2 separate regions of the Homo sapiens genome follow, and region 1 is linked to region 2. The links are contacts of gene promoters, found by promoter capture Hi-C in blood cells and fetal thymus (Javierre and others, 2016). All regions are on one chromosome and are shown on one strand. Each heading gives the region's core, a stretch centred on a gene start or on the middle of the fragment in contact. The rest is flanking DNA. Distances are from core to core; before and after follow the strand shown.

Evidence for each region. The method cuts DNA at HindIII sites, captures the fragments that hold promoters and counts their contacts. A CHiCAGO score of 5 or more calls a contact.
Region 1: a fragment that was not itself captured here is called in contact with the fragment with the promoter of FOXN3 in region 2 in 1 of 17 cell types (total B cells); the score reaches 5.5 in total B cells.

The regions. Positions count from the first base shown.
Region 1 is chr14:89,264,257-89,270,843 of GRCh38, forward strand. The region is part of intron 4 of FOXN3 (forkhead box N3); the gene reads right to left. Among named protein-coding and RNA genes, the nearest start is that of FOXN3-AS3, 83 kb to the right of the region's middle. The HindIII fragment of the contact is 4,938 bases long and covers 1-3,890 here.
Region 2 is chr14:89,415,190-89,422,188 of GRCh38, forward strand. FOXN3 (forkhead box N3) reads right to left here and starts at 2,044. Exons shown (of 6, transcript NM_005197.4): 1 at 1,682-2,044. It overlaps FOXN3-AS1 (FOXN3 antisense RNA 1), which reads left to right and starts at 2,165. Exons shown (of 2, transcript NR_036500.1): 1 at 2,165-2,607; 2 at 3,971-4,604. RefSeq lists enhancers at 896-1,190, 1,205-1,738, 1,739-2,271, 1,896-2,190 and silencers at 1,886-2,095, 2,136-2,425. The HindIII fragment of the contact is 2,355 bases long and covers 770-3,124 here.

The DNA.
Region 1 (6,587 bases), core at 172-2,671, 150 kb before region 2:
GTTCCACATGGCTCAGGAGGCCTCACAATCACAGCAGAAGGCGAAAGACACATCTTACATGGCAGCAGACGAGAGAGAAATCAAGAGAGCCAAGCAAAAGGGGAAAACCCTTATAAAACCATCAGATCTCATGAGACTTATTCACTAACATGACAGAACAGCATGGGGAAATCACCCCCATGATTCAATTATCTCCCATGGGGTCCCTTCCCATAACACATGGGAATTATGAGAGCTACAATTCAAGATAAGATTTCGGTGGGGACACAGCCAAACTATATCACATCACAAGGATAACCAGAACCTTGGCCTGTCTTTGTATACTGTCCTTGGCTGGGGCAACATACAGCCAAGGTGATCAGATGAGAATCAGGCCCAAGAAGAGCAGGAACACCCTCAGGGTGGGCTCACAAGGAAAGGGCTCCCCATGAGTTTCCATCGTCAGGAACCTGGCTATGAGGACGCTACTCAGTTTCCACAAACAAGTGCCATCCACATCAGGAGGATGCTGGTACCACCTAACCCCAAAAGAAACAGAATCAGTTCCTTCTCAAGTAGGATTCCATGCAGCTATCTTCATCATCAAATCAAAATTCTCAAAGACTTCTACATCCCCCTCCTATCACTGCTGCAATAATTCTTACTGATGATAACAACAGCTTCCATATATTCATTCCTTACCAGGTGACACTGTGCTAAGAATGTACACATCTTTTCACAGATGTTCAAAGAGCATGATATTGAGTCCAAGAGGCACCAGTCACCAAATTATTATTTGGATTTTCCAAATAATAATTCCCTGTGTTCAAACTGTATGTCACAACCTTTGCCTTTGCCTTCATGATCTTATTTAGAAATTGTATTATGAAAGCTCCTGTAGCTCCTGTATGGTGTACAGGGCAGGTGTTAATAGCTTTATCAGCTAGTAATCTTTCCATCTTTAGCGATTTTTAAAAACCGAATTGAAGAGATTTTATCGCCTGTGACTGGGAAAACCAGGAACAGTGATGCCTTTCAAATGGCATTTACCAAGCCCTACTCTCTGTCCCCCAACTCAGCAACGCTGCTGGTGAAAATAGGCTTGGACAGGCTCTCCTCTGTTCACAGGTGGCTGCCGGCAGCCCCTGGGGCTACAAACAGCAGCTTTGAATCTAGCATTTCCCCAGTGTTCACTGGAAAAGGTCTGAGAATCACTGTAATCAGACCAGCCTCTATCACATGACCACCCAGACACACCAGTGTAGCCAGAGGAATGAGAGTGACTTAAACTAGTGGTAGAGACGTCACTTGGAAGCACACAGATGAATGAACTGGGGGGATGGAGGGCTCTCCACCTGCAAGCCAGGGTTAATGCCTAAAAGAGGGAAAAGGAACTGTCCATTATAGCAGCACGTCCACTTTTAAAAACAAATCATAGACCCCAAAAAGGTAAAATTACACATGCAAGTATACACAGCTAGTAAGTGGAAGGTCCAAGGCCAGACTGCAGATCGTCCTACTTGAGACTCTTTCAGCTTTCTTTTCATGCTAATTGCTATTATTCATGGGTGTACAGAACTGCCAAGGTCTCGGGGCATACGGTGATGTAGGTCAAGTTAAAACAATTTCCAAGAGGCCCAGAATCTTAGTTGATGATGACATTCACGTTCCCTGGTAGGGTGGGAATGCCTGAAACAGCCTTAGCCAGACTTGCCTCACTGGTGGTGAAGGAGGAGTGCAGGGTGGGACACAGCTGCCCATTACTGTGGATTTATCTTAAGCAGCCAACCTTGGGATCTTCCCAAACTGCCCTTAGCAGCCAAAGTTGACCCCTACAGTCCCAGCTTTGGGATACAAGGTGCTAGGACAGTTGGTAAATATATTAAGTCAGTTCAGGCTGCCAGAACAAAATACTAAGACTGGGTGGTTTAAAGAACAAAAACTGATGTTCTCACAGTTCTGGAGGCTAGAAGTCCGACATCAAAGAGCAAAGAGGTGGCACGTTTGGGTTCTCCTGAGGCTGTCTCCCTGGCTTGCAGGTGACCGACTTCTCACTGTGTCCTCACGTGGCCTTTCCTCAGTACATGTACATTCCTGGTATCTCTTCTTACAAAGACACCAGTCCTTATAAAAACTCCTCCTTTATGTCCTCATTTCATCTTAATTACCTCTTTAACGGCTCTATCTCCAAATTCAGTCACATGCGGGGCGGTGGTGGTGAAGGCTTCAACATATAAATTTTGGAGGCGGCTGGGGGGGCGGTGGAGATGCAATTCAGTCCATAACAGTAAGTTACATGGATATATTTTACAAACCTTCATTGATCTCCTACCGTGTGCTGGGTAACCTGCAAGGTGCTGGAGATAGAGATAAGAAAACTCCAGCCTCAAGGAGATTACAGTCTGGCTGGAAGACAGAAGTAACGGGATAACCAAACAATCTTAGTGGTTCCTGCCATGGCGAATGAGCTCAGATCCTGGGGGAAATAAGTAAGGTGTCAGGGAAGACTCTGCTGCTTATACGAGAGGCTGCTGTTGCTGCCTCTCTTAAATCTACCCTCCTGACCGGCTCAATATGGTCAACTGTGCACTTCTCCATCACAATGTCACTCCAGGCCCTAAAACAAAAGAGACGCCATTGTATTTGCAGCAACACCAAAAGCTCATTTGGCGAAGCTCACCCAGTAATGAGGCTCATACCAAAGGCACGAGCCATGAGTCAATGCACAGACAGCACTTGAGCATGACACGTGTGTATGTAAAAGCAAAGGGGAAAAGTGATGAAGCAGGATGCGGGGAGAAAACATCACCATCTCCCTTTTAGGTAGTTTACCTTCTTCCCTTCTTCCCTACAGGAAAAAAGACAGGGAGATGAAAGAAATGTGTTTCAAGCAGTTGAGGGGCAATTCTGATAAAGGTACTGTGAGCAGGTTTGACCCTGAGGAGATGAGGGTGGCTACACAGTGGGTTCTCAGGGTAGACGGTACAATTTAAATCTTACATTTAAATGAGGCATATAAGGAAGGGCTGGGAACTAACATGGGAAACTGCTGCAGGATGGTGAGCACTGCATCACGTGATTACAATGCGCAAGTTGGCCAGGATCCCTGGCGCTGCAGTGGTCATAGCTGGGCTGACGCTGGAAAGACAGGGAAGCAGCTGCCTTCGCTAGGTTAGGTGGCTCACCAGGTAGACCAGGAAGCAGGGGCTGGGGCGGTGCTCTGGCTGGGGGAGGGGAAATGGAAGGACAAGTGAGGTAGCAGAAACTCAGATCACTATTAGTCTAGCATGCCTTTGCATTTCTCTCATTATCCAATCTACTTAGGAAAAATAATAATAATCACATCTCAAATCAGTATAATTTGAAGAGTAATTGAGTAAAGAAAATCCAGGTCAGAACCAAAGATATAGCCTCTTCAATCTCACTTGCTAGTTCCCAACTTAATTTTTAAAATTAAGACACCTCTAATGAGACTCAAAATTGTTCACAATGAATCTAAAATGCAGTGAGGGGAAGATCAGATGTTAAAAGAGAAAATGTGTTCCATTTCCAAAACGATCAGAGTATGCGTGCGTGTTGGCGGTGGGGGCCGTGGCAGGGGGTGAACACAGTTCTTCTCTATATAAGGCCATCTAACTATAAATGGCATTGGTTGGACATGTGAGTCAATGAACTTGGAGGAAATGGGGATTGCCTAAAATAGCATTTGTGCTATAGACCTGAATTTAGCATTTGAGGGACCTGGCTTTGAATCCTGACTCTGAAAATCCTTCATAATAATACATACACACACATACACACACACATGCTCATCACACTTAAACATATATGCACCTACACACACATACAGCTACACATTAATTTACACATATACATATATGCTGCTTGGTTTAGCCAAATGCTCGACTTTAAGCTTCTGTTTCTTCATCTGTAAGATCAGGAAGATACCACCTACCTCTCAAGAAGTAAGTGAAATTACATGTAAGCCAGGTCTCTGCAGCTATAATGGGGGATACGTGGATGTGAGGAGTATTACTACTATGATCCTACTTTCTTTAAATCAAGTCACTGTCTCTGAAAACTCTCCAAGCTCACCTTCTATTCTCTCAAGGGACAGTCAAACCACTAAGTGGGCCTCTTAAGACAACAAAGAGGCTGAAATGACACTGACACACAGAAATCACCAGTGCTGTATACTTAGTTTAACTAACACTGTTAATTAGAAACACTGTATTCATCATGACTCTCGACTGTACATAAGAAAAACCCAATTCAAGCTGGCTTAAGTATAAAGGAGAATTGATGAGCCCATCAAATCCAGCCACAGGTAGGGCAAGGAGAGAGTGGCCCCTGTCTGTGCGTCTCTGGGCTGGTGCCATTTCCCGTACCCCAGCAGATTCCATGTGCAGGGCTCGTGAGGCCAGCACACCCTGTGGAGCTCCCAGAGCCAGGATGTGAAGCCTAGGGTGGAATTCTGGCCTGGACTGGGCCACGTGCCTATCCCTCCACCAGTCACTAAGGCCAGGGAGTTTCTGTAAGAAGCTGGCACCTCCCATTTGGAATCTATGGGAAGTGGAGGGGTGGGAGGAGAAAGCTGTCCTGACAGGGTTCCTGGAACCCATACTGTCCATGTGAGCCACCGCAACTTGGGCCCATGACAGCTGCAAAAAGTGAAAACTTCATAACTATTTCTTTTCCAGGCCATGCATGGCAAAACACAGAGACAAAAGTCTCCCAGAGCCTGAGAAATACAATACACAAATGATCAGCACACAATCGACCTTTATACATGTCACAGCCTTCTTGTTTCTTATCACAATATCCTCACAAAATTCCTCAAAATGTGGGAAATGAATCCACAACTAGGACGTTGGGAGCATCTCTACTGGCAGACGTCATCAACACCAAGACCTGTGGTTCTAACTCCAAACTGCAACTGTGTCAAATTAGCAGGACCAGATCATCCTGATCAAGCCCCATTAGAAATCACAGCCTACGGAAAGAGGGGCCAACCAGTGTATGCTGCGGTGACCATGAGGTAGGGAGAAGTTCAGCACAAGCCCTTCAATGACTTTGTAAAGTTCCGTATCACTGCAAGTATGGCTGGCTGTCTTGCAGTCTCCCTGTGGTCTCTGAAACTAGTCTTTGCAAATGTCTTAGTCTAGTTTGCATTCTTGAAACCAAGGGGTTAATTTGATCGGATCTGCCTGTACTGCTTGCTTTTGGTCACTTGCTTTTTGTTTTGTTTTGTTTTTTTTTTTCCTTTTTCCATGAAGCTGAGGCCTTGCCACTGAATGCTGGAACTTGACCTTCACTGGCTACTTTACAGATAACATTCATAGGTCACCACGGTAATGGTCGCAACAGTTGTTTTTCAGAAACTAGGGCAAGCTCCTGTCCAGTTCAAACCAGTTAGGACCACTGCCCCTTCAACTGGGCCTGAGCAAGTGCCGGAGAGGTGGCCTTTTGACATTGGAGGGCCAAAAGCTCCACCTCCCCCAGATCACGCTAATGCTGCCATTTACTGAACATACTTCCTTTGAGATGCCATGAACCCCGACTATGCTTGTGCAGAATGAACCTGTTACTTCATTTTTTCCCCATTGCCAATCACTTTTCCCCACACGTTAGACCACCCTGCTTCCCTAACCCATAAATATCCCCGAGCCTTGTCTTCAGGGAGGTGGATTTGAGAGCTGTTCTCCTGCCTCACTTGGTACCTTTCTGAACAAATCTTTTCTCTTTTGGAAAACCCTCCATGTCACAGTGATTGATTCGCTGTGCTAAGGCAGAACGGACCTGGACCTGGCTGGAAGCGTTCTAACACAATCAGAGGGACAGATCACAAGCAATTCCAGCCCATCTCCAAGGAACTTTCTTTTTCTGTCACATTTCTGCAGGATCTTAGTCACTCAGAAGGGTCAGAAAGGATAGCCAGTCAGGACTCCTATTCCACTCCTTCCATGGCCATCCTGTGGGTATTTGCCTTATGCATCAGGAGCTTCAGAGAGACTGAAAACAGTTTGAAACATTCCTGAAGGTATCACTTCGGTTCAGCTGGGGAAGGATCTATGTTACTATTGCTTTTGCTGTTGTCTGTCGGGGGTGGAAGGTACTGAACATCTTAGGAAATTGCAAGACATTGCAGAAATGCTATCATAAGCATCATTAATTCTATTTATTGGATACCCAATCATCACCAGGCACTGTGCAGGTCTCTGTCCAAACATTATCTTTTAATTCTCACAAAATCCCATGAAGTAAGTACTACTATCTATTTGACTGACTGGAAAGGAAAGGCTCAAACTCATTGGATGAGTTGCTCGAGGTCACTCAGCTGGTGGGTGGCAGAGGCTGGCCTTTGAACCTAAGGTTGGCCAGCTCCAAGGTCCATATACTTCTCTCCTAGTTATGCTGCCTCCTCTGGAGTGAAGTGTGGCAATGGCACCTGCTCTTGGAGCACCTACTAAGTGCCAGGGATGCTACACAGATCATCATCAATCCTCATAGTAATCTTGCAAGAGGGATTTTTTTTCATTGTATAGCAGCTCAAAGAGGGTTAGAAAACTTCTCCAAAATCAGGTGGCAATTAGGAAGCAAGGTGTGGA
Region 2 (6,999 bases), core at 794-3,293:
TTAGCTCTAAATGAAAGTTTTATGTCTCCTGAGCTTCCAAACAGGAAAATTATATCATGGCTGACAGTAAAGTAATTTAATTGCACTGTTGCTATGACAACATGCTGCTCTCTTTCTTTTTAATTTGCTTATTTGTCAGTAGCTTCCCAGAGGAACTAACACGCTATTCTCCATGTTTCCTTTTGTTTTAAACAAACACTGCCAGCAATATGGTTTTAGGAGAAAAAGTGGCATTGTCACGAAGAGAGGGTTATGGGAGTTCAGTACCCTTGGATCATGTGTGCGTTTTGTGCTGGGACCCCGTACTCTCCAACCACTCACTGCATCCCTATAAATCCCGCATTTTATACCAACAGGGTGAAGAGCTGCTGATCACTACAGTTCCATGTAAAAACAAAACAAAACAACAATAACCAAAAAAAAAAAAAAAAAAAAAAAAAAACAGTTCCCAGAAACCACAGCTGAGGAGTTTTCCATTATTATACTCTAACTACAGATTTCGCCAAATCTTTTTTTCCTCCTGTTTCAGAGGGAAAAAAAAAGAATCTGGATCATGTGAGTTGCAGTTAAGCAAACATTTTTAATCTGCTGCCAACAAGGCTGCTCCACCAGATACGCAAATAGTTATTCACTGGTGACCTCCTTACAACTTTTCTCTACACACACACACACACACACACACACACACACACACCCTCTTTTGTTTTTTTTATGACTTGCTGTGTTTTGTTACCCTCTTTATTTTTTAACGGAGAAAATGCGGCAAGAAAGCTTAGTTTCTCGCCTAGTAAACAGAAGGTCTCCAAATAACTGACAAAGACATTACTGGCCCAGCTCTGAACAGATGTTCGATGCGAACTTTAAAAAGTTAAGAAATCTTCCCAGAGCCGAGCAGTAGCGAGTTTGGGGGGCCGGGTCACCCCCGCCCACCCAGCACGCGCGCGCGCGCACGCACGCGCTTCACTCTCGTCTACTGTACTTGTCAAAAACATTTCAAGGGGACCTGCGGGAGTGGCGATTGGCTGCACCCCGCGTCAATCAGCGGCGTTGCCGGGCAACGGGGGAAACTGCTCTTATCCCCATATACAGGGCAATTGGGAGCTCGCATACCTTCACTGCCGGTCAGATGTCATAAACCTTTTATTGGCCGCACCGCGGCGAGCCTCGAAAACAAATCAATAAAAGCCCGCCGTCCCCCAACTTATCCAGGGCCCAAGGAGGGTTTCAAACAGGGCCGGGATGAGGGGGGTCGGGCCTCGGGGGTCTCCGGAGACGTTCGTTGCCTGTGCCAAGTCTGCACAGTTTGGCCGGGGGGTGATCTTTGTTAGGAGCCTGTTTCTCATCTTGGGGTCTCCACTTGATCGGAACCCCCTCCCCGGCCCGGAACGGCGGGGACCCCGTCCTCCGCAGACAATACCAACTCTGTTCCTTGCGGGCGTCTTTTCGGAAACCGAGGCACCGGGAAGCAGCACGCACGTCGGGGCAGGAAACTCTTCGGACCCGGCAACTTCCCGGCTCGGGGGCTCCCGGGGTCCACACCCGACCCTCCCCCCAGGACCTGCGGGGTCCCTCGTCTTCCCAGAGCGGCGAGGTAGTCTCCAGGACCGTCTCGGACGCGCCTCCCGCCCCGGGTGCCCCCCGAGCCCACGCGGGAGCCGGCAGGAGCGGGGTGCAAACTCACCTGGCCGGAGCGGGGCACGGGGGTGCGGGGGCGCCGCTGCCCTTCAGCAGGAGCCGACAAACTTTCGCGGGCGCCCGGCGGGCATCGCTCGGTGGCCCCGCTAAGGACGCGCGGGCGCGGCGCGGCGAGCCCGGGGCGGCGGGCGGCGGGGGGCGGCCGCGGGCGCGGGCGGCAGGGGCGCGGGGGTCGCGGCGCGGCATGGGACCTGCGGCGTCCGCCGGGCGCGCCGCGCGTCCTCCCGCCGGCCCCGCCGCTCTCCCCGCCCCGTCCCGCCTCCCGCTCGCCTCCGCCGCGGCGCGTCGGGCCGGGGCGCGCCGAGCGGCGAGAAATTGTTTCCACTGCAAACAAAAAAAGGCGACACATGACCAGGCAGGAGGAGGGGAAGCGCGGGGAGGGAGGAGGGCGGAGGGAGGGACAGAGCGGAGGGCGGAGGGAGCCGGAGAAAGGGAAAACGTGGGCCTGGCCGCCAGCGGCCTGGGGCGCGGGGCACTGACCCGCCGGGGCGGACCCTGCCCGCGCCCCTCGCGCGCCCCAGCACTCAGCCAGGGCGGAGGCCGGGGCTGGGCCGCGCGGCCTCGCCTCTTGGGCCCCGCGGGGCGGGGGTGACCGGCGCGGGTCCCGCGACCCAGGGCGGCCGCGACCGTGGGCGGTGGGGCAGGTGGGTCAGGCGGCGCGTGCCCTGTCCCCTCCCCGGGCTCCGGCCACACGAGCGGGCCGGCGCTGCGCTGCTGGCAACGTGTCGCGGGAACGCTCCTACCCCATCTGCATGCCTTACATGGCTCGAAAGTAAAAATAAAAAGAATTACGATGCGGGCGAGGCTTGTGGGGGTGAGAAGAGGAGATTCCACGTCTCCCCAGTGCTGCGTCCTGATAGGACCCCCAGGGCCTTCCGAGCCCTCTCCCAGCGACCACCTCGTGTCCCGGAGGTAAGCACCGCAGCGTCCCACCCAGGTGGCCGCGTGTCTCCCGAGGGAGGGCCGGTGGCCATTACAAGACAAGAGGCACCGTCCTAAAGGCCACGCCGGTGGGGCCTCTCAAGTGGGTTGTGCGGAACGCCCCGGCCGGCCTAGAGAGAAAACAGGTCTCATTTCCATCTCAGTTTGAGCTCTCAGGAACCAGACTGACAATTCGCAAGCCACCCAGCGAAATGGTGCAGCCACCACTCTAAGTCTCTAGGCACCTCCAAATAATAGCACCCACTGCTAAAGCCACACCAACCAGCCGCCTTGGGAGAGGATGAGAGGAGAGAGTCCAACAGGACACCCTGGTGGTGACAAAAATAAAAATGTGATTGCACATTACTCCCAGGTAGCCAAATTGGTTGGTTCCTCTACAGAGGAGAAGCCCAGGGCACCCTTCCTGCCACCCCCTCCTGAGCCAGTGGACAGGACATCGTGAGCGGTCTGAAAACTACAGAAAAAAACAGCGAGTAGACCTGGAGAAAGCTTTCTAGCATGCAGTACTTTTAAACCTAGCCAAAAGGAGGGACTAAGGGAAACACCAGTTAGGCTTCTGAAAATTTTTTCTGTCTCAAAAAATAGACCCCCCCCCCCCAATCTGAGAGTCATTCCCCCTAACAAAGGTTCAAGAGGGCAGGTGACAAGTCTTCAGCAAAGATGTGCCTTTCAGACTCACCGGAGACCTTACTACTTCCAAGTTGTGTGGCATCTCCCCATCTGGAGACAATTAGGAGGTGGAAGCCCAGGGGTAGCCTGAGGTCATCCAGCCCCACCCCTTTGATTACTGAGCACTTGATGCGACCTACCCAAAGTCACTAAGCAAAAGGCACAAGGTGGCAGAGACAAGTCAGATGATCTTTGAAGTCTCACGCCAGAGATTCTCAGGGTTAGAAGTGGTAACAAAGCCAGGATGAGACAATGTGTACCCTGCTTTCCTGTAGCTCCGGCTAATGCAGGTCCTGCCCCTCCATCAGCGCGTCAGTTGAGGGTGCTTATTCTCCGCCAGAGGAACCAAGGCCAGAGACCTTTGTCCAAGCCCTTGCTGGCCTAGAGAGGACGAAGTCGCCCCCTTACATCTTCCTCTTCCATCCCCAGCCCCCAACCCCACCCCCAAGTCCCCCAGCTACACTCACACAATAGCCAGAAATCTCTTTATATTAAGTAGAGGTGGCACCTTATTTTCACCGGCCCCAGTCCCCTCCTGCTTTCTCAGAGTTCAAAAAGAGGGGATGTGAGCCAAAGGTGATTGTACATGGAATATGTCATTCCATGTGTGTTTTTGCTTCTTGCATTCTCAAACATATTTCTTAATTTCTCTCTCCCATTACAGTTGCAGCAAGAGATGTGAGAAGGTGTCACCCTGAAGAGGAAGTGGTGGACCAGCCCTGCCTGATGTGGACAGCAGGGGACACATGTCTGCCTGTCGGTCTATCTGAAATGGGGGAAAAAATGCTGAAAGCCAAAGGAGGGCTTAATGTGGCCTTTTCCACCTTCTAATTCCATAGAACCTCAGCTCTGGGACTTGCTTCCTGACCTAGGGTGCAGGGGCCAAATTTGTTTGGGAACAACCCCATTCACAATTCCCCATGAACTTTCAGAAAGGACCCTTGCGTCTTAGGTCCTGAGAAGTCACAAATAAGCAAGCTGCATTGTCTAATGTCTTGTCTACACTGTTTTACAAACACATTTAACAGCCGAATTGTATATGTGCCCTAGAAATCACTTTGAGAAACACTTATTTCCTGATAGAGGACTTGATGGGACCATTCTGCAGCCCCATCTGAGCATGGGCTGGAGAGTACATAAGTATCTGGGAGCTGGAAGTCCTCAATTCCAGGCTTATCTGCCCCCATCAGCGTGGGACCTCAGTTCCTCCTCCAAGGAGAAGAGCGCCCCTCCCTTGATGTTTTGTGCATTCTTTTGCTAAATGTTTCTCTGGTCAAGAACTTTAATCCCCCTACACACACACTGTATTGGTTATTAGAGCAGCATGGCTATTTATGGAATAGTTAAGTATAAAACCCGATATACCTTGCCCCCCTTGAGGCAGTACAACTGAGTAGGTGAGCAGGTGCAGTCGGGAAGACCTGAGAGACTGCCCAAAATAGGAAGAGTCCGAGGCAGGCCTGGAAAGACAGTCTTCTGGGGAGGGATCCTGCAAAGAGACTCCAGTACAAAGGATATATGAGAGGAAATACGGGGAGGCTGGGCAGGCACACACCGCTGGCCTGCACAGAACCATATTCCTTTCGTGCTTCCCTCTATAGGTGACTCCACTCTCTACCCTGCAGGTTGGCTTCCTCTGCTCAATGATAACCACACAGGGCTGCCAGCAGCAAGCCCTGAGGCCTTCTGACTTTTAGCACCCACCACCTTTGAACTGCCTCAAGCCTTCCATGACATAGTTTAACTTCTCAGGGAAATAGTGCGATTGGCCTAGCCTGAGTCACATGACTCCCCTACGCGCATGGCCCCCCACCACTCCCTACTGCTAACAGCTGAGACAAGGGACATGGTGAAACATCTGGGGAAGGGAGGGGAGATGACTTTGGAAGTGGGATATCTAATAAGGGTGGGTTGCTGTTTAACCTGTGGAAATGGGGAAGGGGTGTTCTTGACCTGAGCTTCTCACCTGGGGATGCCCATCAGAACCATCCAGAAGCCACACCTAACCAACTAGAGTCTTCTAGGATGGTGCCTGGATATGTGTATTTTGAGAAAGCACAAGGGGATGATTTTGCTTACAAACTGCTGTTCCAAGAGAAATCGATGGCACAGAATTACCAAATCTGACTTGATTGTAGTAGAAGAGGAACTCATTCACTGAACAAATATTTGCTGAGTGCCTACCAAGTGCATGGCATTGTGTTAGCTGCCAGAGATAGACGGTCTTTGTCCCTAAAGAGCACACAGATTAGTGGGTAAGAGTGCAAGCATCATATCACCAAACTCCTTGAATAGCAGGGTGAGCAATTTATATGTGTTAAGGTCAGAGGGCAAAGGTGGCTCACTGAATATTTTTGAGCCCAGAAGTTGTATTATCAGAGATACGAATTAAAAAAAAAAAAAAAGATAAATGGGGATGGTGGATCCAAGATGAATTTCGGGAGAGGAAGAGAGAAACTGGAAGATCAAAAACCAGCAGAACAACTCAGAAATCATTGCAGTAATTCATACAAAACAGAATGAAGACTGTTTAAGAAAAAAAAAAATTGGGGAAAAAAGGCTAAAATAGTGGTTCCTTCTGAATGTTAGAGTTATGGGATACTTCTTTTTTGTGTGCTTCTTTCATACTTGTCCATATTTTCTTTCTTTCTTTTTTTTTTTTTTTTTTTTGAGACAAGAGTTTTGCTCTTGTTGCCCAGGCTGGAGTGCAATGGCACAATCTCGGCTCACTGCAACCTCCACCTCCCAGGTTCAAGTGATTCTCCTGCCCCAGCCTCCCGAGTAGCTGGGATTATAGGCATGCACCACCACACCTGGCTAATTTTGTATTTTTATAGAGACGGGGTTTCTCCATGTTGGTCAGGCTGGTCTTGAACTCCTGACCTCAGGTGATCCGCCTGCCTCAGCCTCCCAAAGTGCTGGGACTACAGGCATGAGCCACTGCACCAGGCCAAACATATTGCTGAGAATTCATGTGAAATCGTGCAATTGTCCGTGTGGGCAATTGGTTTATGGTGTTTCCACCCAGGGAAATTTTTTTTTTTTTTTGAGATGGAGTTTTGCTCTTGTTGGCCAGGCTGGAGTGCAGTGGCGCCATCTTGGCTCACTGCAGCCTCTGCCTCTGGGGTTCAAGCAATTCTCCTGCCTCAGCCTCCCGAGTAGGTGGGATTACAGGCATGCACCACCACGCACGGCTAATTTTTGTATTTTTTTAGTAGAGACGGGGTTTCTCCACGTTGGTCAGGCTGGTCTCGAGCTGCCAACCTCAGGTGATCTGCCCGCCTCAGCCTCCCAAAGTGCTGGGATTACAGGCGCGAGCCACCGTGCTGGGCCCCGCTATTTTTCAAATGGTCTACAATAAACACCCATTACATATATACATACATATATACATTAATTTATTTGACAGAGTCTGGCTCTGTCATCCAGGCTGGAGCACAGTGGTGCAATCGTAACTCACTGCAGCCTCGAACTCCTAGACTCAAACAATCCTCCTTCCTCAGCCTCCAAGTAGCCAGGACTACAGGCGCATGCCACCATGCCAGGCTAATTTTTCTGTAGAGATGGGGTCTCGCTATTTTGCCCAGGCTGGTCTCAAACTCCTGGTCTCAAGCAATCTTCCGGCTTCGGCCTCCCAAAGTGCTGGGATTACAGGCATAAGCCACCGCACCTGGCCCATTACATTTATAATGT